Regions from separate parts of the Homo sapiens genome. Here region 1 is linked to region 2. The links are contacts of gene promoters, found by promoter capture Hi-C in human tissues and cell types (Jung and others, 2019). All regions are on one chromosome and are shown on one strand. Each heading gives the region's core, a stretch centred on a gene start or on the middle of the fragment in contact. The rest is flanking DNA. Distances are from core to core; before and after follow the strand shown. Region 1 holds the start of SHC2 (SHC adaptor protein 2). Region 2 holds the start of MIER2 (MIER family member 2).

Region 1 (2,700 bases), core at 121-2,620, 120 kb after region 2:
CCTACTGAACTCAGTGTCCAGAAAAGCAAAGACACAACCCAATGTGAACACAGGCTAATGTTCCTGGCCGCAGAGGCCGGGAGGAGCTGGGAGCACCCACCGGTAGTGGCGTGCGGGAGTGGCTGATCATTTTCCCAGACGCCGTAATGACTGCAGCTGTAGGACAGCTGCTCTCTCAGAAGACGGGGGACTATGCACGGCGCTGTCACCCCTGCAGGTGACTTCACACGGTTTACTATAAACCACAGAGAGGGGCAGACCCGTCAGCAGAGGGGAAGGTTACCCTCCTAGGTGGAGGCGTGCTGTGTCCAGGCGCCCGACTTCCCCGTGTGTTTGAAAAGGTTCATTTATCATAAGACCCAAGGTAAATAAACAAAGGCCGCTTCCTTGGCCGCCCTGGAAGTCCCTGCTGCCTCCCATCTGGAATCCTGGGGTCTGTCCGGGCGCCAGCCCCTTTCCAAACACCCCTTCCCGCACCCCCACCGCAGGCCAGCGTCTCGGGCCCCGTCTGTCATTCGTGAACAGCTGTCCGGGGGGCTCCGGTGGCAGAGACGCCCCGGCCGCTCGCCGCTCTCGGCCTCGCCCGCCCAGTCCGAGTGGGGGGCGGTGCACCTGCGCATGCGCGCCCCTCCCCCGCCGCCCTCTCCCCGCCCCTCCCCACGTGACGCCGTGGGAACCCGGACCCCAGCGCCTCCGGGTGGGGGCAGCCGCCGGCCGCCGGCCGGGGATGGGGGTCCGGGGTGGCGGGAGAGCAGGAAGGATGGGGAGGGGACACCTGGCTCGCGGGGTCCGGGGGTCCCGGAGGAGAGGGTGGGGGAGGGGAGGCCGCCGCGAACGGGCTCCCGGGGGGGGTGGGGGGGACTCACCCGCACGACGTAGGAGACCCCGGGCCCCAGGACCCTGGCGTCGGGGTGTAGCCAGCCGTGCGCGGGTTTGTGGATGAAGCTGCCCTTCCGGATCCACTCGGCGGCGGCGGCGGCGTCCCCGGACCCCGCCGCCCCCCGCCCGCCCCGCGACCCCCGCGACCCCGCGCCCCGACAGCGGCTGAGCGCGGGCAGGGGACAGGGCGCGGCGCAGCGGGGCTCGCAGGCGCCCAGGACGGCGGCCGCCAGCGCCGGGACGCCCCCCGGGCCCGCCGGCTCGGGTTGGGGGTCCGCGCCCCCCGAGGCCCCAGCCGCCCGCGCCGCCGCCGGGCCGCGGCCCAGGAAGCCGCCCGGGGCCGCGAACTTCCACTGCGGCATTCGGGGCAGCAACGCGCAGAAGGTGGTGGGCGCCTCGGGCTCGGGGGGCGCGGGGGGCGCCGGGGGCGCGCGCCCGCCCGGACCCTGCGTCATGGCCGCGGCCGCCCGACGGAGCCCGACCGGGCGCTGCGCCTGGCGCGGAGGAAGCCCTCCCGCTCCGCCCGCTCCCTCCCGCCCCCCGGCCCGGTGATGTCATCCGCCCGGCCCAGCGCGCAGCCGCGGGGGGCTGCGCCCCTGGGACCCCGGCCCTCCTCGTCCCGGAGCCTGGCCGCGAGGCTGGGGAAACTGAGGCCCTCCGAGGACACCGGGCGCTGGCCTGGAACCCGCAGCCAAGGCGGGACGGGGCTTTGAACCCAGAACCCCGTCAGCGACCCTCCCCGCTGCGCCCCCCACCCCCGCCCGCCGCCCAAGTTCGCAGAAGGACCGAGCTGGAGAAGCTTAGAAATTCCACATCCCTTCTTTCCCCTATTTCCTAGTGGGGAAACTGAGGCCCCGGGAGGCGCGGCCAGGGAAAAGAGAACCCCAGACCCTAAGGTCAGCCCCTCCCTCTCCGTTGTTGCAGCTAGAAGGTACCTTAGGGTCACCCCTATTTCTTAGTGGGGAAACTGAGGCGCGGGGAGGGGAAGGGGCGCGGCCGAGGGCTCACAGACGAAGCTCAAACCCAGGAGTGCCGGCTCGGGGGTGGGGGGGGGGGGCGGGGCTAGGAGCGGAGCCGGGCCCCTGCTCTGCGGCCTGTCCCGGCCTCAGTTTCTCCGGCTGTAACTCAGGGGAGCGGGCTGGAGGGTCGCGGCCCTTCTTCCCTCACTTCTGGGGAGCCCAGTCCCGCACCAGCTCATCTGAGCTCTGGGCCTCAGCCTCCCAGGCCGGTCGCTCCATCCCCAGCCTCAACCTCTCCGAGACCGGCCGCACCTTCCCTGGCCTCAAGGGTCGGTTCCTTCTGCACCAGAAAACGGGGTGTCACTGTCACCCCGGGACCCAGCCTCCTGGCCCGACTTGGCTGGAGCTCCCCTGCACCTGCCCCGCCCCAAGCAGGGCTGATTGCCGGGAACAAAGGGAGGGGCCGGGACGCGCTGGCAGGTGGGGAGGGAGGGAGGGGCGAGGCTGCCCGGAGCCCGATCGATAATTCAGGGGATGAGATCACAGCCGGCGCCGCCCGCGGGGCCGGGGAGGTGGGGGAGGGGAGCGAGGCGCGCGGTCGCGATCGGCCGTCTCTGCCGCGGCGCGTGTCGGACTCAGCCCCTGCGCGTCCGCGGGAGGAGCAGATCGTGGGCGCGATTGGTCGGGCTGGAGCCGCGGCTGGACCTGCGCGCGGTGTGTGTGTTGTGCGCAGGGTGTACGCTGTGTCTGGGTGCGTGTCCAGGCATATGCAGGGGATCCAGGCTGCTGGGTCCTGGGGTGTGTTCACCTAATGGGTAAAGGGTGGGACAGGTTTGGCGGCCCTAGGCTGAGGGCTGTGGGC
Region 2 (2,700 bases), core at 28-2,527:
GGCCTGTTACTGCCCCTGAGGTCGTCACCAGGGGGAGAGAATGGCCAGTCCTGCCTCCCACAACGCCCAAGACATAAACACGCAACGTGGCACCACGGCCAGGCCGCAGTTCCAATCCCGGCTTCCCACGAGGCGGCTGTGCCTGGCTGGGTGGGCACCTTTTCCTTTGGGCTCTATCCCAGAGATAGGATCAGCTCTTGAGTCTGCCCGCCTGTCGTAACTTCTGCGCACAGAAGTCATGCACTGAGTCCCACTGACTGAGCACCTCGCAGCCGCCGCACCTTCACCTACATTATCTCTTTCCATCTTCACCAGGGCCCTCCAAGGTGAAAGCAAGTCCACACAGGCTCATCCACCACTCCAAAATCAAAAAAAGCTTCAAAAGCGAAAGTTTCTTCCTTCCTGGTTTGACCTGACACGAAGCTATCTGTTGTCTTATCCTAGACAGTCCTAGGTGGGTTTGATCAAACATCACAGTCCAAAATCCCACAGATCCTCAAATTGGAAAAATTCTGGATTCCAAAATATAGCTGGTCCCAAACATTTCAGATAAAGGGTCCCGGGCTTGTTTCCTGGACGAGGGAGGAGGCTCCAGAAGTAACTTCGTGCCCGGGAGAGGCTGGTCCAACTCTTCTGAGATCAGCCCCGACGCTCTCTAGGCCCCGGCAGACCCACCCACCCTGCGCCCAGTTCGCGCCAGGCGGGTCCGCGTCGGGAGTTCAAATCCCGCCCGGGGTCTGACCCAGCCCCGCCGGGGGGCTCGCGGGCGGCGGAGGCGCGGTGGGTCCACCGGGATCCCGATGGGGAGCGCGGGGCGCCTGGCGGCCCCAGCACTCGGCAAAGTTGGCAAAGGCGCGGGAGGGGAGGCCTGCGCGCCGCGGGGCCCGGGCCGGGGCCGGGAACCGGAGCCGGACCCTGGAACGGAGCCGCGCGCCCACCGGACCCCCGACACCAGCCCCGCCCCGCGTCCCTCCCCTCCCCCACCCCGGCCCCCGCCCGCCCCGCGCCGCCGCGCATGCGCACTGCAGCCCGCGATGTGGCAGCCGGGGGAGTTGGGGGGTGGGGGCCGGCCGGGGGCGGCCGCCGATGGAGCCCCGCGCCCCTCCGGCCCCGGACGGGCCAGGCGCCCCGGCCGGCCTCAGAGCTCCAGAGCGGGGCTCTCCGTCCCTGGGGCCCACGACGAGGCCGAGCCACGGCGGCGGGGGGCGCGGACGCGCGGGGGCGGGGGGCCGGCTCCCCCGGCCCGCTCACTCACCTCCGCCATGGCCGTGTGTGCGCGGGAGGCGGTGGCCGCGCCGGGATCCCCGGATGAGGGGCCGCGCACTCATTGGCTGTGGAGCCTGGAGGGCGGGGCAGGGGGCGGAGCCTGGAGGGGGCGGAGAGCGGGCCGGGCGCGTAGTAGGTGCGCGGGCGCGGGCGCGGGCGCGCAGCCGAGCGTGGCCGGCGGCTTCTGGCGAGCTTGCGGTGTCTTTCCGGCCGTCTCTGCTGGACCCTGATCTTGGCCTTGGCCTTGGCGGAGGAGACTGCATTCCATAAAAATACGAATTCCTGATAATCACACCTGCGTGGGGACCACGTGGTCCTGTGTGACCTCTTCATTCCCTCGGCTGCTCGCTGTTAATACCCCGCGTGGCAGACTAGGAAACTGAGGCCCAGGGCGACGGGCCACCCAGAGTGTCAGTGATAGAGCCAGAATTGGTGTCCGGGCTGCGTGGTTCTGGAATTTTCTGCACTTTCGCACCCGTGATGAGCAAACTAGCGCGCGGAGGAACCAATCGGGGAGCTTGCGAACGCGCACCAGTCGGAGAGGTTTTAGAAACGGTGGCCCCGCGCCGGAGAGCCCAAGGCGGGAGGCAGGGAGGTGGGCTTGACCCCAGGGCCATTTGGTTCTGCAGTCCGTCGTTTCGCAGATTGAACATTTCTGGAACACGTGCACGTTCTGATCCTGAGGGTTTGAAGGAGACAGCCCTAACGCCTGTCTTCAGGGCGTTTAGAGTGGAGGATGGGAAGGCAAGGACTCGCCACACCTTAAATTTGAGACGGATAAGTGCCGTGAATCTTCGGGGCGCACGATGCAGAGAGAGGATAGGAAGCAGGGGTGGGGCGTGAAGAGGCAGGGGCCAGGTGGGAGCTGTGGGGCCTGGACCAGAGTGCAGAGAGACTTGAGAAGGTGGACACCACAAGACTCGCTGATGGAGGGAAGCTGGAGAGAGTGAAGGATGGCCTCCAGATGTCTGGCTTGCGCAAATGAGTGGAGGGCGGTTCCTACTGAGACCAGGAAGAAGAGAACTGGAGACCAGGAAGAAGGGAATTGGGGACCAGGAGGAAGGGAATTGGGGACCAGGAAGAAGAGAATGAGTCTCATTCCTGTTTCCCAGTGATCAGCCAATGAATAGTGAGAACTTGACATGCATCAGCCTTGATTCCTGATGCAAAATCATTACTCAGTCCTCTGAGAATTCACCAACCAAGAGATAGAAGAACCACTCTGGAGGGGTCTACCCTCACTCCTTTTTTGGTTTACATCATTGAGATTGAGGGTTCTGGCCCTCGTGTTGAAGAGTCCTCACTGATTTGTGCAAGAGTTGGTTCCTTCCTTTATTATTCATTTGTTATTATTCATTCAGTCATTCAGTGAACTAAACACATATCTTATGCAGTCCTCAACTGGGTGCTGGGTAGCCAGAGGTCCTGTGAAGC

Evidence for each region. The method cuts DNA at HindIII sites, captures the fragments that hold promoters and counts their contacts. A contact is called where the count stands out against the background at its distance.
Region 1: the fragment with the promoter of SHC2 here is called in contact with the fragment with the promoter of MIER2 in region 2 in 4 of the 25 tissues and cell types used here (dorsolateral prefrontal cortex, lymphoblastoid cells, mesendoderm cells and 1 more).

Annotation. Positions count from the first base shown.
Region 1 is chr19:459,663-462,362 of GRCh38, forward strand. It overlaps SHC2 (SHC adaptor protein 2), which reads right to left and starts at 1,371. Exons shown (of 13, transcript NM_012435.3): 1 at 867-1,371. The coding sequence starts at 1,334. The HindIII fragment of the contact is 8,702 bases long and covers 1-2,448 here.
Region 2 is chr19:343,519-346,218 of GRCh38, forward strand. MIER2 (MIER family member 2) reads right to left here and starts at 1,278. Exons shown (of 14, transcript NM_017550.3): 1 at 1,256-1,278. The coding sequence starts at 1,264. RefSeq lists an enhancer at 1-334 and silencers at 643-752, 1,053-1,102, 1,173-1,622. The HindIII fragment of the contact is 27,379 bases long and covers 1-2,700 here.